Linked DNA regions of Homo sapiens: regions 2, 3, 4, 5 and 6 are each linked to region 1. The links are contacts of gene promoters, found by promoter capture Hi-C in blood cells and fetal thymus (Javierre and others, 2016). All regions are on one chromosome and are shown on one strand. The core of a region is centred on a gene start or on the middle of the fragment in contact, and the rest is flanking DNA. Distances in the headings are between cores, read along the strand shown. Region 1 holds the start of FAM83A-AS1 (FAM83A antisense RNA 1). Region 2 overlaps ANXA13 (annexin A13). Region 3 overlaps ANXA13 (annexin A13). Region 4 overlaps LOC107986904 (a long non-coding RNA gene). Region 5 overlaps ZHX2 (zinc fingers and homeoboxes 2). Region 6 overlaps LOC107986904 (a long non-coding RNA gene).

Region 1 (3,539 bases), core at 55-2,554:
GCACATCATGAATCCTGTGATCATAACGCCCTTGCTTTCCTTTTTCCATAATTATAGAATTTTTTTTTGTCCTTTTTTTTTTTTTTTTTGAGTTGGAGTTTCACTCTTGTTGCCCAGGCTGGAGTGCAGTGGCGTGATCTCGGCTCACTGCAACCTCTGCCTCCTGGGTTCAAGCGCTTCTTCTGCCTCAGCCTCCTAAGTAACTGGGGTTACAACAATGCTGGCTAATTTTTTGTTTTGTTTTTTTAACCATATGTTGCCTCTTTGGTGAAACGCCTGCTTATGTCTCCCACCCACTTTTCTGCTGTGCTCTTGTGCTCTTGTGAGTCTCAGCACTAATCTCTGTCAGGGGTGTGCATCTTGAATAGCTGCTTCCAGTTTGTAACTGACTTTTCACTTCCTTTAAGATGTCTTTCTTTTTTTCTTTTCTTTTCTTACTTTTTTTTTTTTTTTTTTTTTTGAGACAGATCTCATTCTGTCCCCCAGGCTGGAGTGCAGTGGCTTGATCTCAGCTCACTGCAACCTCTGCCTCCTGGATTCAAGTGATCCTCCCACCTCAGCCTCCCGAGTAGTTGGGACTACAGGCACGTGCCACCACACTCGGCTAATTTTTGTATTTTTAGTAGAGACAGGATTTTACCATGTTGGCCAGGCTGGTCTTGAACTCTTGACCTCAGGTGATCCACCTTCCTCTGCCTCCCAAGGTGCTGGGATTACAGATGTGAACCACCGCACCCAGCCAAGATGTCTTTCAATGAACCAACATTCTTAATTGTAATATAGTCAGATTAAGCAAACTTTTATGGTCACTGCTTTTTTTTTTTTAATGTGTGTATGTTTTCCTTTTAAAGAAATCTACTGAGAGTTTTAGTTTATTTTCAACATTCAAATTCTTTTCAACTATTGCAAGTCGATTTGTAAACAAATGCGTGCATGGTGGGTAGTAATCCCATTTTACATACGGGGAGTTATTTTTTCCAGTTCCTCCTTTCCCCACTGCTCTGTCATGCCCTGTGGTGTGTGAATATGTGCCTGAGCTTTCTGTTCTGTGTGTCAATTTGTCCCTCCTCCAATGACACATTGTCTTGATTACTGCAGTTTCATGACAAGTTCTGAACTCTGGTAGGGCAAGTCGTCCCTGCTTGTTTTTCTTTTTCGGATTTATCTTGGCTATTCTTGGAAAAGCACATTTAACATCATGACCCACAAGTACATAACCACACAATAATTTCCAGAACATCCTTTACCTCAGCGTGGTCTGATTATTTTTATTCTATTCCGTGTCATTTAAAAAAAATGCTAGACATCATCTACTAAATTGATTTCACACCCCGCTAATGGATGGTGAGGCACAGTTTGAAAAACTGCATTCTTTCAGGACACTGAATGGTCAGAACCCAATGTGCTTTTATTCATTCATTCAACAAATATTTGTGGCCATGTATAATGTATCAGGTGCTGTATTTACTGTACTTCATGCCAGGAAAGCAACAGAGAAGAAAACATACCCAGTCCAGTCCCTGACCTCATGTCATTTACAATCTCGGCTAATCAAGTTCACAAATAAATAATTCCAAATCATGATGGGAGTGAAGCCATAGAGGATAAGAGGGCTCGGGGTGGTGATCAGAGGTCTCTGAGGCAATGATCTGGAAGCTGCCACCTACAAGATAAAGAGTAAGCAAGATAGAGACAGCAGGAATGAGCTCTCCGACGGAGGGCATGAACAGCAAGTGCAAAGGCCCTGCGACTCGAAAGAGCATGAAAGACTGAGGAAGCGGCCAGTGTGGCTCCAACACAGTGGAGGAGTGGGGGGATCCTACTGAGATAGAGGCCCTGGTAAGGATGTAGATTTTTGTTGTTGTTGTTGTTCCTAGGAGCAGTGGCGAGTACTGAAGGATTTTAAAGTGGTTTGATCTGGTTTGTGTTTCTGTTCCTGGGAGAGAAAACCCATGGATGGCAGTGGGGGCGGGGCAGGAGGCCAATTAGAAGCCAGGATGATGTCTTGCTGTTGTTCCCCATCCTGTTCCCAATGCCCAATTTTGCCTGCCTCTTCCCCACCAGGGCTGAATAATTCTCATCCTTCAAGGCCCAACTCCAGCCAATGGCACCGACCTCCTGGACCTGCTAGGCAGAAGTGGTGGCTCCCTCTCAGCTGACCCCAGAGCACTTCCTTAGCTCCTGCTGATCTCAGAGCACACACACCAATCCACTCTGGCCACTCAGCAATTTTTCTTGATGGCCCTGGCATGGCACCTATGCTGGGGTCAGACCCTCAACCAGCCCTTCAGTGTTGAAATGCACAACCTCAGCCCTCTAGCCTCAGCGGAGGAAGCAGGGCTCTTCAGTTTGGGAGAACCATATACAACCAGAAGAAGGGGCCAAAATATCTGAAGCCCCCAGGTAGCGGGGCTAAAAGAAAGGGATAAATGGCCTCTTCTGGTTTTTTTTCTTTGTTTGTTTTTGTTTTTACTGGAAACAACTCTAAGGGGAGACTGGTCCCAGTGAAGATGATCCCCTGAAAGGCTAGTAAGCAGGTCACCTTTGAATGTCAAGGGCAAAATCACTGTTGGTGTCCTGTTCTCCCTCCAGGAGCTGGCTCCTCCACAGCTCTCAGGAATGACAGTAAACACAGACGGCCCTGCATGTATTCCGGCTGTGGCAGCCTTCCTCCTGGGCTGCACATCAGGCTAACAAGCCCAGCCCTCAGCTTCACAGGGATTGGAGAGCTGGTGACCCTAGTCAAGGAAGCTGGTGACCCTGGATCAGTTGCCTCCCCTCTCTGTGCCTAAATCCCCCACCCCACTTCTGTCAATTAGGAGGATGATGCCTTCTTCAAAGTGTTGTCATAAAGATTAAATCCTTATTAAAGTCTGTTTTTGTTTTTGTTTCTGTTTTTTTTTGAGACAGTCTCACTCTGTCGCCCAGGCTGGAGTGCATCTTGGCTCACTACAACTTCCACCTCCCAGGTTCAAGTAATTCTCCTGCCTCACCCTCCCTAGTAGCCAAGATGACAGGCACGTGCCACCACACCAGCTAATTTTTTTTTTGTATATATGTGTATATATATATATATATTTTTTTTTTTTGTTTATTTGTTTGAGACAGAGTCTTGCTCTGTCACCTAGGCTAGAGTGGATCTCGGCTCACTGCAACCTCTGCCTCCCAGGTTCAAGCAATTCTACTGCCTCAGCCTCCCAAGTAGCTGGAATTACAGGCACCCACCACCACATCTGGCTAATTTTTTGTATTTTTAGTAGAGACAGGGTTTTGCCATGTTGGCCAGGCTGGCCTCGAACTCCTGACCTCAGGTGATTCACCCGCCTCGGCCTCCCAAAGTGCTGGGATTACAGGTGTGAGCCATCGCGCCCCTCCTGATTTTTTATATTTTTAGTAGAGATGGGGTTTCACCATGTTGACCTGGCTGGTCTCAAACTCCTGACCTCAAGTGACCCACCCCGCTCAGCCTCCCAAAGTGTTGGGATTACAGGCATGAGCCGCCACACCTGGCCCTTATTAAAGTTCTGATCACACCTGGC
Region 2 (3,268 bases), core at 623-3,122, 480 kb before region 1:
CTCCAGGTTCCCATTGAGAACCTCCAGGAAGGGAGCCTGGGAAGCCACACTTCTACAAACTGTCCAAGTGACTGTGTTATACTCACTGAAGTTCAGGAACTCACTCTGAAGGCAAAGGGGAGCAAGATATAGAGCACCGGGCTGGCTGCCTTTCCTGCCATTTGCTGTGAAGAGGTTTTTTTCTTTCTTTCTTTCTTTCTTTTTTTTTTTTTTAAGACACAGTTTCACTCTGTCACCCAGGTTAGAGTGCAGTGGTGCAATCTTGGCTTACTGCAACCTCTGCCTCCCGGGTTCAAGTGGTTCTCATGCCTCAGCTTCTCAAGTAACTGGGATTACCAAGCCTGGCTAATTTTTATGTTATTAGTAGAGACGGAGTTTCACCATGTTGGCCAGGCTGGTCTCGAACTCCTGACCTCAAATGATCCACCCACCTCGGCCTCCCAAAGCGCTGGGATTACAGGTGTGAGCCACCATGCCTGGCTGCAGTGAATAATTTTATTCCACATCTTCTTTGGCTATCCCTGCCCAGCCTTTTGAGAGATTCCTGCTGCTGCTAACAACAGAGGTTGTTCCCCAAGCATAGATTATAGACAGGAGAAATGTTGAGAGTTTTCTTCCTGAAATATCAGGTAGAAGGAATGTCAAGGGAGAAGATCCCTGTGCAGGAGCGGAACACGGTGACTTCAGGCAGACAATGATCCCCACATCAAGCCGTGCTGTATGGAAGAGGATTTTCAGGAAAACTTTGTGGTGCTCATTAGCTCAAATTGTCTGGGGATCACAGTAAGTCTTGAATATGCTACTCCCCAGAATAGCATGCAAGTTTCCCCTGAACCACCAATCCAGCAGCTTTTGGGTTGTTCTCAGGAGAAAGAGGCCAGACATTGTTTCTTTTCCGGTGCGATTTTCTTTTCCACTGAAACTGTGGCAGCTGCCACATGGCCTGTAAAAGGCGGCTGGTCCCCAAACTAGACTCTCCTTCCCGAACTCTGCTCCTCTCCCCTGCTTATAAGCATCAATCACACAGACAGTCCCCTAGACAACAACAGCCCCATTATGGGACATAGTAAGATTGCACATTCCACATTTATGCTGAAATAATCACTTACTGTTAATCACTAACATCATCAAGTGTTCTAGAGAAATGTTAACAGCCTAAAGGGCAAATATTTTTTTTTTCCTCTAACGTGTTAGCCATGATGGATTCATATGAGCCTGGGAAGAGGGGAAGGAATGATTTATTCCCAGGAGAAGAGATGCACCCTGTCACCTGCTTGATGAATAGAGACCACGCTTCATTAAGCTGTAGATAGATCAAAGCTGGAAGGCAAGGGGAAGCCAGGAAAGAGCAAATAGCAGCATCGTAGGAAAGTGATCTTTAAAAAGGATCAAACATTTCATCAAGTCCACATCCCGGATTGCAAACCAAAAGATCGTGGGGAACCTGGAAAAGGTTCAGAGATGAGGCTTGCAAAACAACCCCAGTGAGGAAAAACAAAGAGTAGGGAGGTTGTTGAGCATAGGAGAGCAGGCGGCTGTCCAACTGGATACATTGTCAAGATGATGAAGTTTTGTTCCAGAAGGTTGCTGGCCAATCTGTTTCCCTTCAGAACCCTAGGACAGCACCAGAGATTTCACTCGATAGGGAAAGTTATTTCTGCTGGGAAATAACGAGAATCATGGACGTGGCCGGGAGGGCCCGAGGATGCCACAGCTCTCCTCTAGAGGGTCTTCAGGGGACAGGAGGGGAGCTATGCTTGAAGATTCCAGGTGCTCTGACCAGGGAATCTTCCAAATCTCATTTCGCAACGGTGTCAAGTCAGCTCTTTTCACACCTCTGTCTCACCATCCAGTCAGCTCGAAGGGCAGCCAGGTGACATTTAGGGGGGTCCCAAGGTCATTCCACAAAACGTGAAAGCCTCACATTCTCTTTTCCTTTGTCCTGCCCAGTGAGATGTGCCCAGGATTGTGAGGACTATTTTGCTGAACGTCTGTACAAGTCGATGAAGGGTGCGGGGACCGATGAGGAGACGTTGATTCGCATAGTCGTGACCAGGGCCGAGGTAAGACACACTCCGACTCCAAAGAGGCGGCTGCAACTTCTCTTTTTTCCACCACTGATGTCATCAACAAATAGTTTCTATTAAGGGCCTATTTACAGAAAAAGTAAAACAGAGACGGCCCCTTGCCTTCCCAGAATTTGCAGAAGACATTGTGCTCTGCTTCAATCTGTTTCTTTTTATAAAAATACAATAATGATCGTTGCTTCTTTTTTTGTCCTCTGTGGCTCTGGAGAGCTAGTGGAGGGGCGCAGAGGCAACCATGTCGAGCAGTTCTCAGGGGCTGCAGCTATGCATGGCTCCATGTTAAGGAAGACAAAACAAACACACTTGAAAGAGGTCAACCAGCAGCAGGAACAAAAAGAGAATGATTTCTGAATTCCTGAGTGAGGCCTTTCCTTAACTGAACACACTGCAGAAGCAAGCACATCAGCATAAGGCAATGGTTCTCAATCTTTTTAAAAACTATTGCTGTTCTAAGGAACCTTTTTAGACACGTGTTTCTTCATTGCCATCCCTTCCCCACAAGAAATGTTAACACCAGAGATAATACTACAAATCTGTTTATATACCATGTGGATATCAGTGCTTTATACATAAAAAAATTAAGGGCTTTTTCACCCCCTAAAAACCAATTTGTGCTTGCTCTCGGAGAATGTGTATGTATAAGAAAGAAAAGGGAGAGGAAGAGCCAACGGCTTGGGAGCAGCCGTCAAGATCACAGCTGGTCGGGTGCAATGGCTCATGCCTGTAATCCCAGCACTTTGGGAGGCCGAGGTGGGTGGATCGCCTGAGGTCAGGAGTTCGAGACCGGCCTGGCCAACATGGTGAAACCCCGTCACTACTAAAAATACAAAAATTAGCTGGGCATGGTGGCACACACTTGTAGTCCCAGCTACTCAGGAGGCTGAGGCATGAGAATTGCTTGAACCCAGAAGGTGGAGGTTGCAGTGAGCCAAGATGGTGCCACTACACTCCAGTCTGAGTAACAGAGCGAGACTCGGTCTCAAAAAAAAAAAAAAAAAAAAGGTCACAGCTAACAGTTCGGGATATGGGGCCACAGACAGAAGGTGGTACAAAATAAAGGGGAAGTGGCATTTCATCGGCAGCAGGAGAAGCCTTGGGGAATGAAGTGGAACTAAGCACTTGAAAACCACAGACATCTTCCCTCAAAAAAAAAAAAAAAAAGTGGTTAAATGAAGGGGGAG
Region 3 (3,598 bases), core at 531-3,030, 500 kb before region 1:
ATAAGATCTGAACTCAGAGGAGAGATTAGGGCTAGAGGCGCTGATCCTGGAGTCATCAGTCAAAGGGCGAAAGTCGCCTGGGAAAGGAGTGACTCCAATAGAGAGGAGAACTGAAAATCGAGTTTAAAAGGCCAGTGGAAGAATACAGGCCAATCAAGAACCCTGAGAGGGAGGTGATGGAGAGGAGAAAGGAAAGACTGGGAAAGGAGGTACAAAGCCATCTAGGAAGGTGTTTCACGCAAAGAATTGTCAACCGCAGGCCGGGTGCGGTGGCTCATGCCTGTCATCCTAGCACTTTAAGAGGCTGAGGCAGGTGGATCACCTGAGGCCAGGAGTTTGAGACCAGCCTGACCAACATGGTGAAACCCCATCTCTACTAAAAATACAAAAATTAGTTGGGCATGGTGGTGGGTGCCTGTAATCCCAGCTACTCGGGAGGCTGAGGCAGGAGAATTGTTTGAACCCAGGAGGTGGAGGTTGCAGTGATCATGCCACTGCGCTCTAGCCTGGGTGACATAGCCAGACCCTGTCTCAAAAAAAAAAAATAATTCCCGACTGCAGAATTCAAATGCTGCAGAACAGTCAGGTACATGCAGGAACCGAGAAGAGGTGCTGCATTGTGCCTCAGCTTCCTCTTCTGTAAAGAAGAGCTTGGACTAGATAGTCTCTAACATTTCCTCCAGCTCCAGAGATTGCTGACTGCTGTGCCTTGATCCCACCGAGCTCGATCACTGGGGTGAGCAGTTCATGGAGGGTGGTCCCTGTGCACACCCTGCATGGATGTGAGGCAGTGCCAGGCGCGTGGTCATTTACATCCCCTGGTGTCCCGGGTTTCCCACGTGCGTGCTTAGGACCACCGCGGACTGGACCCACACTTGGATTCTCGCATTTCATTCTCACAATAGCCTTGTATACTATTACCCTCATCTTAGAGGTGGGAAAACTGAGACTTGGCAAGAAAAATCACTTGCCCAATGTCATGCAGTCGGTACAGGGTGGAGCTGTGATTTGAGTCCAACCTGAATAAATCTAATGTGGGGTTTGATGGTAAAACCGTCTTTCTTATTCGCACACTGGAAATACCTGTGTCATCTTTCCGATCCTGGTTCCTGGTTCAAACAAGGACATTCTCCCCTTCTTTCTTATTCACTATAGTTTTCAGTACTGATCAAATTGCTGCCATGAGCTTGTATTACTTTGAGCATCAGGGGTAAAAAAGCTTCTAAAAATAACATAATCTAAAGGTAATAGGAGTTAAAAGGGGCAACCTCCCTTCATGGTTTCAATCAAGACTTCTCTCCTGAGATTAACAAATGTATGGGTGGGGTTAATATTGTAACAGTTTCAGCCTATATCCTAATCTTGTTCATGCAATTGTAAGCACCCAGAGGCCAAGGAACAGGCCATCTTTTTCCTTTTTGTTTTTTAAAACATTTTAATTGAGATATAATTCATGCACCATATAATTCACCCATTTAAAGTGTTCAATTCAACAGTTTTTATTATACTCACAGATGCATGCAACCACCACCACAGTCAATTTTAGAACATTTTCATCACTTCAAAAAGCAGCCCTGGACTCCAGCTACCATCCCCCTAGGCAGCCCACCCACCCCCAGCCACTAGTATACTTCCAGCCTCTGTATATTCTCCTGTTCCGGACTTTCATACGAATGGAATTATATAACATGTGATCTGCTATGATTGACTTCTTTCACTTAGCATAATGTTCTCAAGGTTCATCCATGTTATAACATCTATCAGTAATTTATTCCTTTTTCTGGCCAAATAACATTCCATTGTATGGATACCCCATATTTTGTTTATTCATCTTCAGGTGATGAACACTGGGGCTGCTTCCACGTTTGAGCTATTATGAGTAATGCTGCTATGAACATTCACATGCAATTGTTGGGTGGACATATGTTTTCATTTCCCTAGGAATAAAATTAAGGAACCAGCCATACTCGTTCCTCTTTCCACCACAATGCCTAGCACTGTGTGCCATGTGCTGTGAGGCCTCAATGGCTATTTGTCTAAGTGAATGAAAAGAATACAGTTTTCAGCACAAGGCATCAAAGCTAAGGGTCCGTTGGGTTCCATAGACACCTCCAACCACCTTTAAGCTGTGAGTCCTGGCTTCCTCACCCTGGACTAAAATAAACTTCCACCTTGTTTCTTATTCACTGTGGCTTTGTTTGTTTCTCCTGTATTTTAGGGACCAATGAAGCAGCCATCATTGAAATCTTATCGGGCAGGACATCAGATGAGAGGCAACAAATCAAGCAAAAGTACAAGGCAACGTACGGCAAGGTGATTCCAGGGGTGGTCAGCAAGCTTGCACCCAGCCATGGCCTCAGCCGTCTCGGCTTCCTCATGTCCCCAGGCCACGCAGAATATCTTTATAGCTTTATTGAGTCAGCCCAGGAGGAAAAGTGAAATAACCACTTAAAAGCATTAATGGAGTTCAGAAAAACTGAAATTGCTTTGTTAACTCAATAGCCTGTAAAATCAATACTCTTAAACTCATTTCTTAAATTGACTTCATTTTTCTATGAAGACCCTAGTCTTTTTTTCACTTAATTGGGACTAACTGTACATATGTAGCTAGATCAGTAATTTGAAAATCAGTTTCCACAAGTGGGTCTTTATACAGGAATTTTTCATAAGCGATTGTTACAGAAAACTACCAAAAAAACTCTCCATTTTATTAAGCTATCAACACCTATTTTTCTTTACATTTTCTTTCTTTTCTTTCATTCTTTTTATTGTTGAAAATAATTTTATAGAGAGAAGTCTTCAAGTATGCATTAGGCTTTCTTATTTCTTTATTAATATGTAATGAACACAACTTAAACTTTTCTTAATGTCATTAGAATTATCATTATGCAAAATGAATATCAATTATTATGCTGTATTCTCATTTATATTTTTCAAACTTTTACCATTTCAATCACTGTAGGTATAAATAGATATATAGAAAGATGAAGATGGGTTTTCCTATTTATTTGATACTGAGCAGGTAACAATTGCTTCAGGCCTTGGTCTTTTCATGGATAGAAAGAAGATGATAACTTAGCTCCCTTCTCAGGTTGCTGGGAGAATCAGTCAGGATAATGCCAGCATGTACCAATACAGGAAAAAGCTATGATAGCTATGATTGTTTCCATTTTACAAAATCACACACCTAAAAAAAAAAAAGAGAACCAGGACTCACATCCAAGTCTCACATCCAAGTCTCCTGACTTCAAGAACAGTATCCATTCCTGGAGGACCCAGTGCCATAAATAGAGCTATTTGCTTGTACACTAAATGGCCCAAATGGCTGTGCTTTTGTGCTTTTTCTGCTTCTCTCCTTACTATTAGGTGCGTCAATGTAATTTTTGATGAAAATAAGTGCATCTTCAGTTCAACTGCATTTAATTGAATGCATGAAGCTGAATGTGTGTGTGGTTTTTTTTGTTGTTGTTGTTTTGTTTTGTTTTGAGACGGAGTCTCACTCTGTTGCCCAGGCTGGAGTGTAGTGGCATAATCTTGGCTCACTGTAACCTCTGCCTCCCGGGTTCAAGCGATTCTCCTGCCTCAGCCTCCTGAGTAG
Region 4 (3,198 bases), core at 142-2,641, 470 kb after region 1:
CTTATGGTGGCAAGATGGCCGCTGCACCTTCAAATAGGAGGAAGAGGAAGGGTCATAGGTCAAAGGAAATGCTAGCTGAGTCTGTTTCTCCAATTTTTAGGGAAGCAACAGATTTCCTGGAAGATACCCCTCTGCTTCCCAAATAGTCTTCTCCTTACATTTCATCTGCCAGAACTGAAATGTGCCCACCCTAACTGCGAAGGTGTCTGGGGAGGTGATCTTGTTTTCTGGGCATATTGTAGCCCTGAAATTAAGGGCTTATTGGTAAATAATGAAAAATAAATGTTTTATAGGAACCTAACAGCGTCCTTTTCTGTCCCAAAAGGGTAGATGAAAGCTATTATTTATTGGTCTTCTACCAGTTGGCAAGCATTGTGCTAAGCCTTTTCCACCAATTATGTCAAATTTAATTTCTAACACACACACACACACACACACACACACACACACACATATATGGTAAGTGTGAACTTTATTTTATAGAGATGAAGAAACTAAAACTCAAGAGATTAGGTAAATTGCTCAAGGTTACAGAGTGGGATGAATTAAAAATATCTCCTAACTCTACTGGGTTCAGAAAGGCTGGAGGAGGTTTTGAGTTACTTTGAATATTTTCTGTTGGCCTCTTGGGGAGGATCTTAATTTTCTTTTCTTTTCTTTTTTTTTTAACTCTATATGCCTGAAGCAGGGATGGATGTGGGGGTAAGTGTAGAGCTCCCAGAGGCCCAGGGCCTCCCTCTGAATGCCCACTGTGATGCTGAGGGGCTCTGGCCTGTGCTTCCTTAAGGATGCCACCAATCCTTCCTAGATTTCCCAGAGTTGTAGTGGTCTGCCTCCCCTTAAGGGTCCTCCTATGCTTGAGCCAGATCCCTTCCTCACTGTCGGCCCCATTACAAACTTCATGTAGGTCAACTGCGGTGATTTGAGGGAAATGGAGCAGGACTCAACTGCCCCCCAACTCTCAGGAGCAAATAACATAAAGAGCCATGCTGCAAGTAGTCAAGGATGCAGTGTTGAGAGGTGATTGCTGCCTTTGAATCACCCTTTGCCGCTTGTTGGCCATGTGACTTGCCGGTTACTGGATGACTCCTCATCTCAGTTTCCTCATCTGTAAAATGGGCCTTAACAACAGTACCTCTGTCATTGAGTTGTTGAGAGGATGAACACGTGTAAAATACTTACAACAATGCTACCTACCACATAGCTAACACCCGTGAGTGCTTAATCAGTCTTGCTGAATGTCCTCTTTTAGACATCTTTTTGATCTACTCGATTTTATACATTCATTCTTTCGAATCTTGAGAGCCAAATTTCTTGGGTTGTTCTTTTTCTTTTCTTTTCTTTCCCTTTTTTTTTTTTTTTTGAGATGGAGTCTTGCTCTATTGCCCAGGCTGGAGTGCAATGGCACGATCTCAGCTCACTGCAACCTCCGCTTCCTGGGTTCAAGCAATTCTCCCGCCTCAGCCTCCCAAGTAGCTGGGATTATGGGCACCCACCATCACACCCAGCTAATTTTTTTTGTATTTTTATAGAGACGGGGTTTCATCATGTTGGCCAGGCTGGTCTTGAACTTCTGATCTCCAGTGATCCACCCACCTGGGCCTCCCAAAGTGCTGGGATTACAGGCCTGAGCCACTGCACCAGGCCTGGGTTGTTCTTAGGTGACTGTTTGATTTTAGTGAATACTGTACTTGTCAATAATTGCCTTTGGTTCTAGCTGTTAATACAAAACAAGAAAAAGGATAGCTAATATTTGTTGAGCTCTTATTTTTCTGCTTTTCTAAAATACGGGTTAACAGGACAGTATGAGTTGAGCCTCCTAGAGTTGTGCAATATGGTGGCCCTTGCATTAGTCAACTTGGGAGTGATGGGTTGGTAAATAGCAAAGATCACTTTGTTTTCATCACTGTTGAAGCTAAGCCTGCAGTTTTAAATACGCTGTTTTCTTTGGCACCAGTTTTACTTTCTTCCAGGCCCATGAAAGCCTCCTTCAACCTTCAATGTGATGTTCTTCTGTCTTTCCTCAGCATGCAGCCCCTGCCCAGCAAAACACCATCTGGGGACATGAGGCCAAAGCACCCATATTCTGGTCCCACTTCTAGCACTGCCTTGTGCCATGACATGGGGCAAGTCAATCCCCCATTTTGGGCTTCAGCTTCCCCTTCTAAGAGATGATTCCTAGGGCCTCTTCCAGCTCTCCTTATTTTCCGATACTCACTAAAAGACGCTCTATGACTTTGGGAGCACACGGTGCTTGGGAGATTTTGGTTTTGAAGTTTTCCTTCTGAGGATTGCTTTAATTTATTGGGCATCTTGTTGCTGAAAAATACAATCAAGAAAGAAAACACACAAATGCCTTTTCCTTCTACAAATGTGATGCTTAAATAAAATTCAGTTCCATGGAGCAAACACAGGGGAGTATAAATGGATAGGGTTTCTCTTGTCTTTGAGCAGTCCCAGAGGAGGCTGTAAGCAGCAGGATATCCCTTCAACCAGATGGGCTGCCGAGCTTAGAGAGCCAAGCAGTCACAGAGAAGAGAGAAATGACTTGTGGAAATAAGGAAAGGCTGGTTACCGTGATGTCAGTTTATTCTCACAGCTGAATATAGTCAGTCTGGAAGCCAGAAAGAAGATGAAGATTAACTACGCTGAGAGGCTCTCAAACTCGAGCTGATGGGCATGATGTTCCAAGTCACAGTCCAGTGTCTGATAGGAATATGGCCCATTGAGTTAACTTTGGATGTGAGACATCCTTGAGAGCAGGACTAGGCTCAGGAAACATTGACAGGGTTAGATGACACTCCACCCCCCTTTGGTGGTTTTGTCCCATTTTTCTTGGTGCCATGAACAGCTTGGGATATCTACGGTTTCTTGCTGCCTACAGAGCCCTCTCCTATCATGTCTCACCCAGACCAGCCTTGTCTTATCCAGTGACACCCTATTTTTAGATTTTTTTTTCTTTCCCCTTTCTCTTATCTTCAATCTTATTAAAATTTTACTTGGGGGAGAGAATGATGAGGGTAGAAAGAGTCATTGTCTTTGGACTCAGGCAGTCTTCAGTGGAAATCTTGGCTCCTTTGTTCATGACAATGAGAACTTAGGCCAGTTCTTTGGTTATCCTGTTTTCTTGCCTTTGAGATGGGTACAGTAAAATCTAACATACAGCATTGTTGACAGAATTGGATGAGATACAAAGCT
Region 5 (3,481 bases), core at 725-3,224, 380 kb after region 1:
TTCACCAGTCATCTTTTCAGCTCAGTTACCACTTCCTCCGGGAAGCTGTCTCCATCAGGGTAAATCCTGCCATTTGCAGTTTTTATAGCACATCAGGCCTCCTTTTACGAGCATGCCTCCTATGAGATGGCTTCAAGTCTGAGGTCTGCTACTCGCTGGTCCTTGAGCAAATCCCACTGTTCCCTGGGCCTCAGTTTTGAAGGAAGGGGGTTGATAAAATGCTCTCTCAGGTCCCTTTTGGTTCCAACCTCTGGGATTTCCCTTCCCAAAACAAGAGCCGCCATCACAGCAGCAACCCAAGTGGAGGTCTTGACCTTCAGAAAATCCCCTTCACTCGCTGGGCCTTCGTTCACTTAGCACTAAAATCGTGGGGTAAGTTATGATACTGGTTTCCAAGCATTTTAAGGCATGAAATTCATTTTTTCAAAATGCAATCTAATACCTAATAGCAGTAAGAGTAGAGCTGCTTTGCTTGACATAGGAGCCAGGGTCTGGAAGTCCCCTTACTGTTGGGCCTCCGAGGCATCCTCTCTCAATAGGGCTCCTAGAAGCACACTTTTAAAGTCACACTAGGCTGGGCACGGTGGCTCATACCTGTAATCCCAGCACTTTGGGAGACCAAGGAGGGTGGATCACCTGAAGTTAGGAGTTCAAGACCAGCCTGGCCAACCTGGGGAAACTCTGTCTCTACTAAAAATACAAAAATTAGCCAGGCGTGGTGGCACATGCCTGTAATCCCAGCTACTCGGGAGGCTGAGGCATGAGAATCACTTGAAACCAGGAGTTGGAGGTTGCAGTGAGCCGAGATCGCGCCACCGCACTCCAGCCTGGGTGAGACTGAGACTCTGTCTCTAAATAAATAAATAAATAAATAAATAAATAAATAAAGTCATGCCTGTAGCATCACTGTGTGTCAAGTTCTAATGTCTACCCGCTCTCACCTCACATCTCTGTGTTGCCTGCATCCTATGGGGTCCAGGGATCTTCTTTTGAGAAGTGTCCAAAAGATAACAAAGGCATGAGTGCTCCTTTTTTTTTTTTTTTAAGTGTTTGATTTCAAATGAGGCTCCAAAGGATGTAAGATATGAGATTTATCAAGGCAGGAGGAGAGAAGCCAATAAATTACCCTATTTGCAAATCATTGCTATGGAAGCCAAAGCCCCAACTGTTAAAACAAAGGAGATAAGCCCTTACTATAGCTTAGCCTGCTCACAGAGGAGGCACAGATGCCCACGGAGCTGGCCCAGCCCCCAACAAGCCCCTAGGCACCTCCATTGTATCCCATCCCAGCGCCCAGCAGAACTCTAGTTCCCGTCCATGCAGGGCTGGGCAGCAAGTCAGGAAGCCTGGCAGCTGGTTCCCAGGAGTTGCCAGCAGATCCAAGGACACAAAGAGGGACTCCTGGTCCCTGCAGAACCAGCGCACCCCTCCTCCAGAATCTAGAATTCGCGAGAACATTGCCCACCCCTCACTGCTACCCAGATGTGAACGGCTGTGTGGCTTTCCATGGCGAGGGCTGCACACTCCTTCCTTTCTTTATTTCTGACTCCTCCTGAATCATCACCCTCTGCTGGGTGAGCACAATGTGCAGAGGTTTTAGGGGCTGGGGAAACATCCCTGCTGCTTCCATGTCAGGGAGACATAAAAACACACTAAGAAACCTTTTGGCAGGAGGCTCAAGGCACGGGCCTGTGTGGGCACCTGGCCGTTGGCTTTGATTTGGAAGCCAGGGTGGCTGACCTTTCGGAACCAGAGAGACACCTTTAATATTCGGAGACAGCTGATTTTTATTCTTATTATTTTTAAAGGCTCTAAAGCACCCATAAAACCATCTCGTGGAGTTGAAGCTTCCTTTAGTTTTCCTTCCATTCTTATTCAGCTTATAAAAATGCATAAAATCAGGAGTCATTCTGCCACCCCAAATGCATCCCTCTCTCAGCCCCGTCGTCTGGTGACTATTCTCCGTATCAATCCCAAGACAGCAGCTGAGCTTCCTGCACAATCCGGCATCTCCCCCATCCCCCGCTCCCGCTCCCTTGTCCTGTTCAGTCCTCTTGAATTTTAACTGTCAACTCTCCAGTGACAGACACAGCAAGCTTGAAGGGGAGGGAGGCGGGTGCTATTTATAATTCGGCGGCGTTCACCCTCAGAACACGGCCATTTTTTCCAGGCCGCCTGCCAGAGGCCCACATTCCCCAGGCTCTATATATGGGCTTCTCCACAGGCCCCTGTGGCCATCTCCTCGCCTCTGAGGGGCCCAAGGCAGCCTGGCCAGTCAGAAAGGCAGGGCCAGCTCTGCTCCTCCCTGGCCTGCGAGGAGGCCACAGCCAGCCCCACAGCCTGGACTTCCTCTGGGACAGAGGACAAGAGTCAGGGACCCTGGGGGTACTGATCTGACAGGGACTGGAGAGCAGCCGGCTTTTCCCCCTGGGTTTGAGTAAGAATGGCAAGGAAAAAAAAATGTATTCTTGCTATCAAACATTAGATCACCCCTTCTTTTTGCCAAGTGGTTTTCAATTGTTTCCATCGTGATGTGACTGAGGTCCATGGCAGTCTCGCCAACCCCTGAGAGCTCTGAAAGCTGGATTTATGGACGCCTTTAGCTAGGCAGATGGGAGGGGAGGCCTGGGGAGGGTGGGCAGCCCAGCCAAGGCGAGGGTGTGGGGCTTTGGCCAAGCAGATATTTTCTGCAGGCTCTCAGCTTTGATTAGCATATATTAAGGATACGGGAGAGAAAGGTGTCCGGCCTCTTGTGGGTATTTGGATGTAACCACTTCACTGCCTTCTGGAAGCCAAGCCTGGAGGCAAAGGAAGGGCCTGACCCAGTGGAGTGCCCAGTCTGGGCTCTCGTCAACTTTGTCCTTTCTATGCCGATGCCTGTGGGGCCAGGCTGAGGCCAAAAATGAGCTGGGGTCCCCATGGAGCAGGACACCCCCTCCAATTTCATGCGGGCAATTCTACTTTGGTTTCTTGGATAGTGCCTGGAAAACCTCCTTAGGAACTGACTGCAGTGGAAGCAGATGTGTCCCAGTCTGGCCACTTGAACATCAGGAACACTCTTGTTCCCAGGTAATCTTTTTCTCCTCCTTTCAAACCAAGTTCAAGTCCTTCTTCTAAAAAGCCTTCTATGGCCATCTTTGTATCTCCTCCTGAGGATGGAGAGCATCTACTGTGAGCACGCATGCTGGGAATAACGGTCTGGACTGCTGGCATGCTTACTCTATGCCATGCATTTAGCATGGAGCATCTCATAAGGCTCTGGTGGGAGAGTGCCATTCTGTAGGTGAGGAAACAGAGGTGCAGAGTGGTCAGGCAGCCTGCTCAAGGTGACCTCGTGGGTAGGTGGCAGATCCCGGTCTCACTCCCAGCCTTCCCACTGCAGGCACTGGCTCTTCTCAGTTGCCTGGGGTCTTCATTGTTACTTTGGGTCTAACCACTGTCTTCTCATGCACTGGCCTCCCATCTGGCCTTCAAGAAGGCC
Region 6 (3,516 bases), core at 390-2,889, 490 kb after region 1:
CCTTGCAGGGTACAGCCTCCCTCCTGGCTGCTTTCATGGGCTGGCATTTAGTATCTGTGGCTTTTCCAGGCACACAGTGCAAACTGTCAGTGGATCTACCATTCTGGGGTCTGGAGGATGGTGGCCCTCTTCTCACAGCTCCATTAGGCAGTGCCCAGTAGGGACTCTGAGTGGGGGCTCCGACTCCCCATTTCCCTTCTGCATTGCCCTAGCAGAGGCTCTCCATGAGGGCCCTGTACCTGCAGCAAACTTTTGCCTGGGCATCCAGGCATTTCCATACATCCTCTGAAATCTAGGCAGAGGTCCCCAAACCTCAATTCTGTACTTCTGTGCACCTGCAGTCTCAACACCATGTGGAAGCTGCCAAGGCTAGGGGCTTCCACCCTCTGAAGATGCAGCCTGAGTTCTATGCTGGCTCCTTTCAGCCACGGCTGGAGCGGCTGGGACACAGGTCCCTAGGCTGCACACAGCACAGGGACCCTGGGCCTGGCTCATGAAAGCACTTTTTCCTCCTGGGCCTCTGGGAGGAGGAGGCCTCTGTGATGGGAGGGGCTGCCATGAAGGTCTCTGACATGGCCTGAAGACATTTCTCCATGGTCTTGGGGATTAACATTAGGCTCCTTGCTACTTAGCAAAATTCTGCAGCTGGCTTGAATTTCTCTCCAGAAAATGGGTTTTTCTTTTCTATCTCATAGTCAGGCTGCACATTTTCCAAACTTTTATGCTCTGCTTTCCTTATAAAATAGAATGCCTTTAACAGAACCCAAGTCACCTCTTGAATGCTTTGCTGCTTAAAAATTTCTTCCGCCTGGCTGGGCACGGTGGCTTATGCCTGTGATCCCAGCACTTTGGGAGGCCAAGGCGGGCGGATCACCTGAGGTCGGGAGTTTGAGACCAGCCTGACCAACATGGGGAAACCCCGTCTCTACTGAAAATACAAAGTTAGCTGGGCTTGGTGGTGCATACCTGTAATCCCAACTACTTGGGAGGCTGAGGCAGGAGAATTGCTTGAACTCTAGAGGCAGAGGTTGCGGTGAGCCGAGATTGTGCCATTGCACTACAGCCTGGGCAACAAGAGCAAAAGTCCGTCTCAAAAAAAAAAAAAAAAAAAAGGAAAAAGAAATTTCTTCCACCAGATACCCTAAATTATCTTTCAAAGTTCCACAAATCTCTAGGGCAGAGGCAAAATGCCATCAGTCTCTTTGCTAAAACACAGCAAGAGTTACCTTTACTCCAGTTCCCAACTAGTTTTTCGTGTCCATCTGAGACCACCTTGGCCTGGACCTTATTGTCCATATCGCTATTAGCATTTTGGGCAAAGCCATTCAACGAGTCTGTAGGAGGTTCCAAACTTTCCCACATTTTCCTGTCTTCTTCTGAGCCTTCCAAACTGTTCCAAACTTTGCCTGTTACCCAGTTCCAAAGTCGCTTCCACATTTTTGGGTATCTTTTCAGCAACACCCCATTCTACTGGTACCAGTTTACTGTAGTAGTCTATTTTTATGCTACTGATAAAGACATACCCAAGACTGAGAAGGAAAAATGGTTTAATTGGACTTAGATTTCCACATGACTGGGGAAACCTCGGAATCATGTCGGGAGATGAAAGGCACTTCTTATTACATGGTGGTGGCAAGACAAAATGAGGAAGAAGCAAAAGCGGAAACCCCTGATAAACCCATCAGATCTCATGAGACTTACTAACTGTCACTAGAACAGCATGGGAAAGACTGGCCCCCATGATTCAAGTATCTCTTCCTGGGTCCCTCCCACAACATGTAGGAATTCTGGGAGATACAGTTCAAGTTGAGATTTGGATGGGGACACAGCCAAACCATATCAGAAGCGTTCTTGGACATTGCACCACCAGCAGACGTGATATAGACAATCACCAAGGACTTCAGCTGCTGTAGAACCAGGGCCCCATATATATAGCTCTAACTGAGCCACTCCTGCCATCTCAACCACCATAGCTGAGGGCCTCAGTCACTGTGGAGCAGAGACAAGTTGTCCCTACTATACCCTGACCAAATTATTGACTCCAAAAATTTCAAGCATAATAAAATGATTATGGTTTTATGCTTCTAAGTTTTGGGGTGGTTTATTACAGAAAAATAGATAACTGGAACTCCTGGGGATTTTCCAAGATCCTCCCATGTCATTCTAATAAACAACCATGTTGAGAACCAGTGGTCTATAAAATCAAATACTATGTATCCACAGAGATGAATAAAGAAGGTCTTTTCATTTTGCTGTGGGATGATCTACAAATTTATATTGTTGAGGCCAAAATAGAAAGTTACAAATAATTTTTTATACTATGCTACCATTTGTGTAAAAATGTAAAAATATATAGATATGAATAATGTCTAAAATAATACATTAAAGAGTGGTAAGTAACATTTGTTGGCTCCAGAGAGGGAAACTGGATGGCTGGGGAACAGGGGAAAATTTCTACTCAGTACCTTATGACAGCTTTCAAATGTTAAGACATGTGAATGTACCACTTCAAAAGTAAATAAATTCTGCCTGTTTCTTAACTGGAGAAGTCCAGGTTCTTTATTTTGATATGGCCTCAGTCTTCATTTCCAGGCTTAATATTAATTTGTCTTACTTTATACTAAAAAATAGTTGTAATAAGTAGAGTAATGGCCCTCAAAGATGGCCACATCCTAATTCTTGGAACCTGTGAGTGTTACCTTACACAGAAAAAAGGACTTTGCAGATGGGATTAAGCTAAGGATCTTGAGATGAGGAGATTGTCCTGGATTTTCTGAGTGGGTCTAGTGAAATCATAAGTGTCCTTATAAGTAAAAGAGGGAAGTAGAAGAGTCAGAGTCAGAAAAGGAGATTGGGGTCAGGTGCGGTGGCTCAAGCCTGTTGGGAGGCTGAGGTGGGCAGATCACTTGAGGTCAGGAGTTCGAGACCAGCCTGGCCAACATGGTGAAACCCTGTCTCTGCCAAAACTACAAAAGAAAAAAAAATTAGCTGGGCATAGTGGCACACGTCTGTGATCCCAGGCCTGGGATCTGGAGGCTGAGGCACAAGAATGCCTACTCTGAAGGCTGAGGCATGAGAATCACTTGAACCCAGGAGGTGGAGGTTGCAGTGTGCTGAGATCATGCTACTGTATTCCAGCCTGGGAAGGGGAGCAAGACTCTATCTCAAAAAAGAAAAAAAATAGAAGATTGGAGGATGGGAGTAAAAGTTGGAGTGATGTGATGGCAGACTTAGAATATGGAGGAAGAGGCCATGAGCCAAGATGTGCAGGTGGCCTCTGAAAGCTGGAAAAGGCGAGGAAACAGATTATCCCCTACAGAAAGAACACTGCCCATTTGACATTCAATTTTAGCACAGTGAGACCCATTGCAGATTTCTGACCTCCAGAGCTGTAAGATAATAAATATGTGTTGCTTTAAGCCACTAAGGTTGTGATAATATGTTACAGCAGCAACAGGAAACTAAAGCAGTGGTGTTCCTCCAGATGCTGTTTCAACAGATAGGCATTTTGAGGGA

What was found. The method cuts DNA at HindIII sites, captures the fragments that hold promoters and counts their contacts. A CHiCAGO score of 5 or more calls a contact.
Region 2: a contact is called between a fragment that was not itself captured here and the fragment with the promoter of FAM83A-AS1 in region 1, in 1 of 17 cell types (naive CD8 T cells). The highest score is 5.8, in naive CD8 T cells.
Region 3: a contact is called between a fragment that was not itself captured here and the fragment with the promoter of FAM83A-AS1 in region 1, in 2 of 17 cell types (total CD4 T cells and fetal thymus). The highest score is 7.1, in total CD4 T cells.
Region 4: a fragment that was not itself captured here is called in contact with the fragment with the promoter of FAM83A-AS1 in region 1 in 13 of 17 cell types (total CD4 T cells, naive CD4 T cells, activated CD4 T cells and 10 more); the score reaches 11.4 in total CD4 T cells.
Region 5: a fragment that was not itself captured here is called in contact with the fragment with the promoter of FAM83A-AS1 in region 1 in 1 of 17 cell types (total CD4 T cells); the score reaches 5.6 in total CD4 T cells.
Region 6: a fragment that was not itself captured here is called in contact with the fragment with the promoter of FAM83A-AS1 in region 1 in 4 of 17 cell types (total CD4 T cells, total B cells, naive CD4 T cells and 1 more); the score reaches 6.8 in total CD4 T cells.

What each region holds. Positions count from the first base shown.
Region 1 is chr8:123,200,508-123,204,046 of GRCh38, reverse strand. It overlaps FAM83A-AS1 (FAM83A antisense RNA 1), which reads left to right and starts at 1,304. Exons shown (of 3, transcript NR_024479.1): 1 at 1,304-1,839; 2 at 2,065-2,403; 3 at 2,593-2,875. All of the region lies in intron 3 of FAM83A (family with sequence similarity 83 member A), which reads right to left. The HindIII fragment of the contact is 13,090 bases long and covers 1-3,539 here.
Region 2 is chr8:123,683,405-123,686,672 of GRCh38, reverse strand. ANXA13 (annexin A13) reads left to right here. Exons shown (of 11, transcript NM_004306.4): 10 at 1,951-2,063. Among named protein-coding and RNA genes, the nearest start is that of KLHL38, 31 kb to the right of the region's middle. The HindIII fragment of the contact is 5,117 bases long and covers 1-3,268 here.
Region 3 is chr8:123,701,357-123,704,954 of GRCh38, reverse strand. ANXA13 (annexin A13) reads left to right here. Exons shown (of 11, transcript NM_004306.4): 3 at 2,219-2,313. Among named protein-coding and RNA genes, the nearest start is that of ANXA13, 34 kb to the left of the region's middle. The HindIII fragment of the contact is 1,118 bases long and covers 1,222-2,339 here.
Region 4 is chr8:122,727,374-122,730,571 of GRCh38, reverse strand. The region is part of intron 1 of LOC107986904 (a long non-coding RNA gene); the gene reads left to right. Among named protein-coding and RNA genes, the nearest start is that of LINC01151, 35 kb to the right of the region's middle. The HindIII fragment of the contact is 3,615 bases long and covers 1-3,198 here.
Region 5 is chr8:122,819,096-122,822,576 of GRCh38, reverse strand. All of the region lies in intron 1 of ZHX2 (zinc fingers and homeoboxes 2), which reads right to left. Among named protein-coding and RNA genes, the nearest start is that of ZHX2, 39 kb to the right of the region's middle. The HindIII fragment of the contact is 249 bases long and covers 1,850-2,098 here.
Region 6 is chr8:122,709,466-122,712,981 of GRCh38, reverse strand. All of the region lies in intron 1 of LOC107986904 (a long non-coding RNA gene), which reads left to right. Among named protein-coding and RNA genes, the nearest start is that of LINC01151, 17 kb to the right of the region's middle. The HindIII fragment of the contact is 5,357 bases long and covers 1-3,516 here.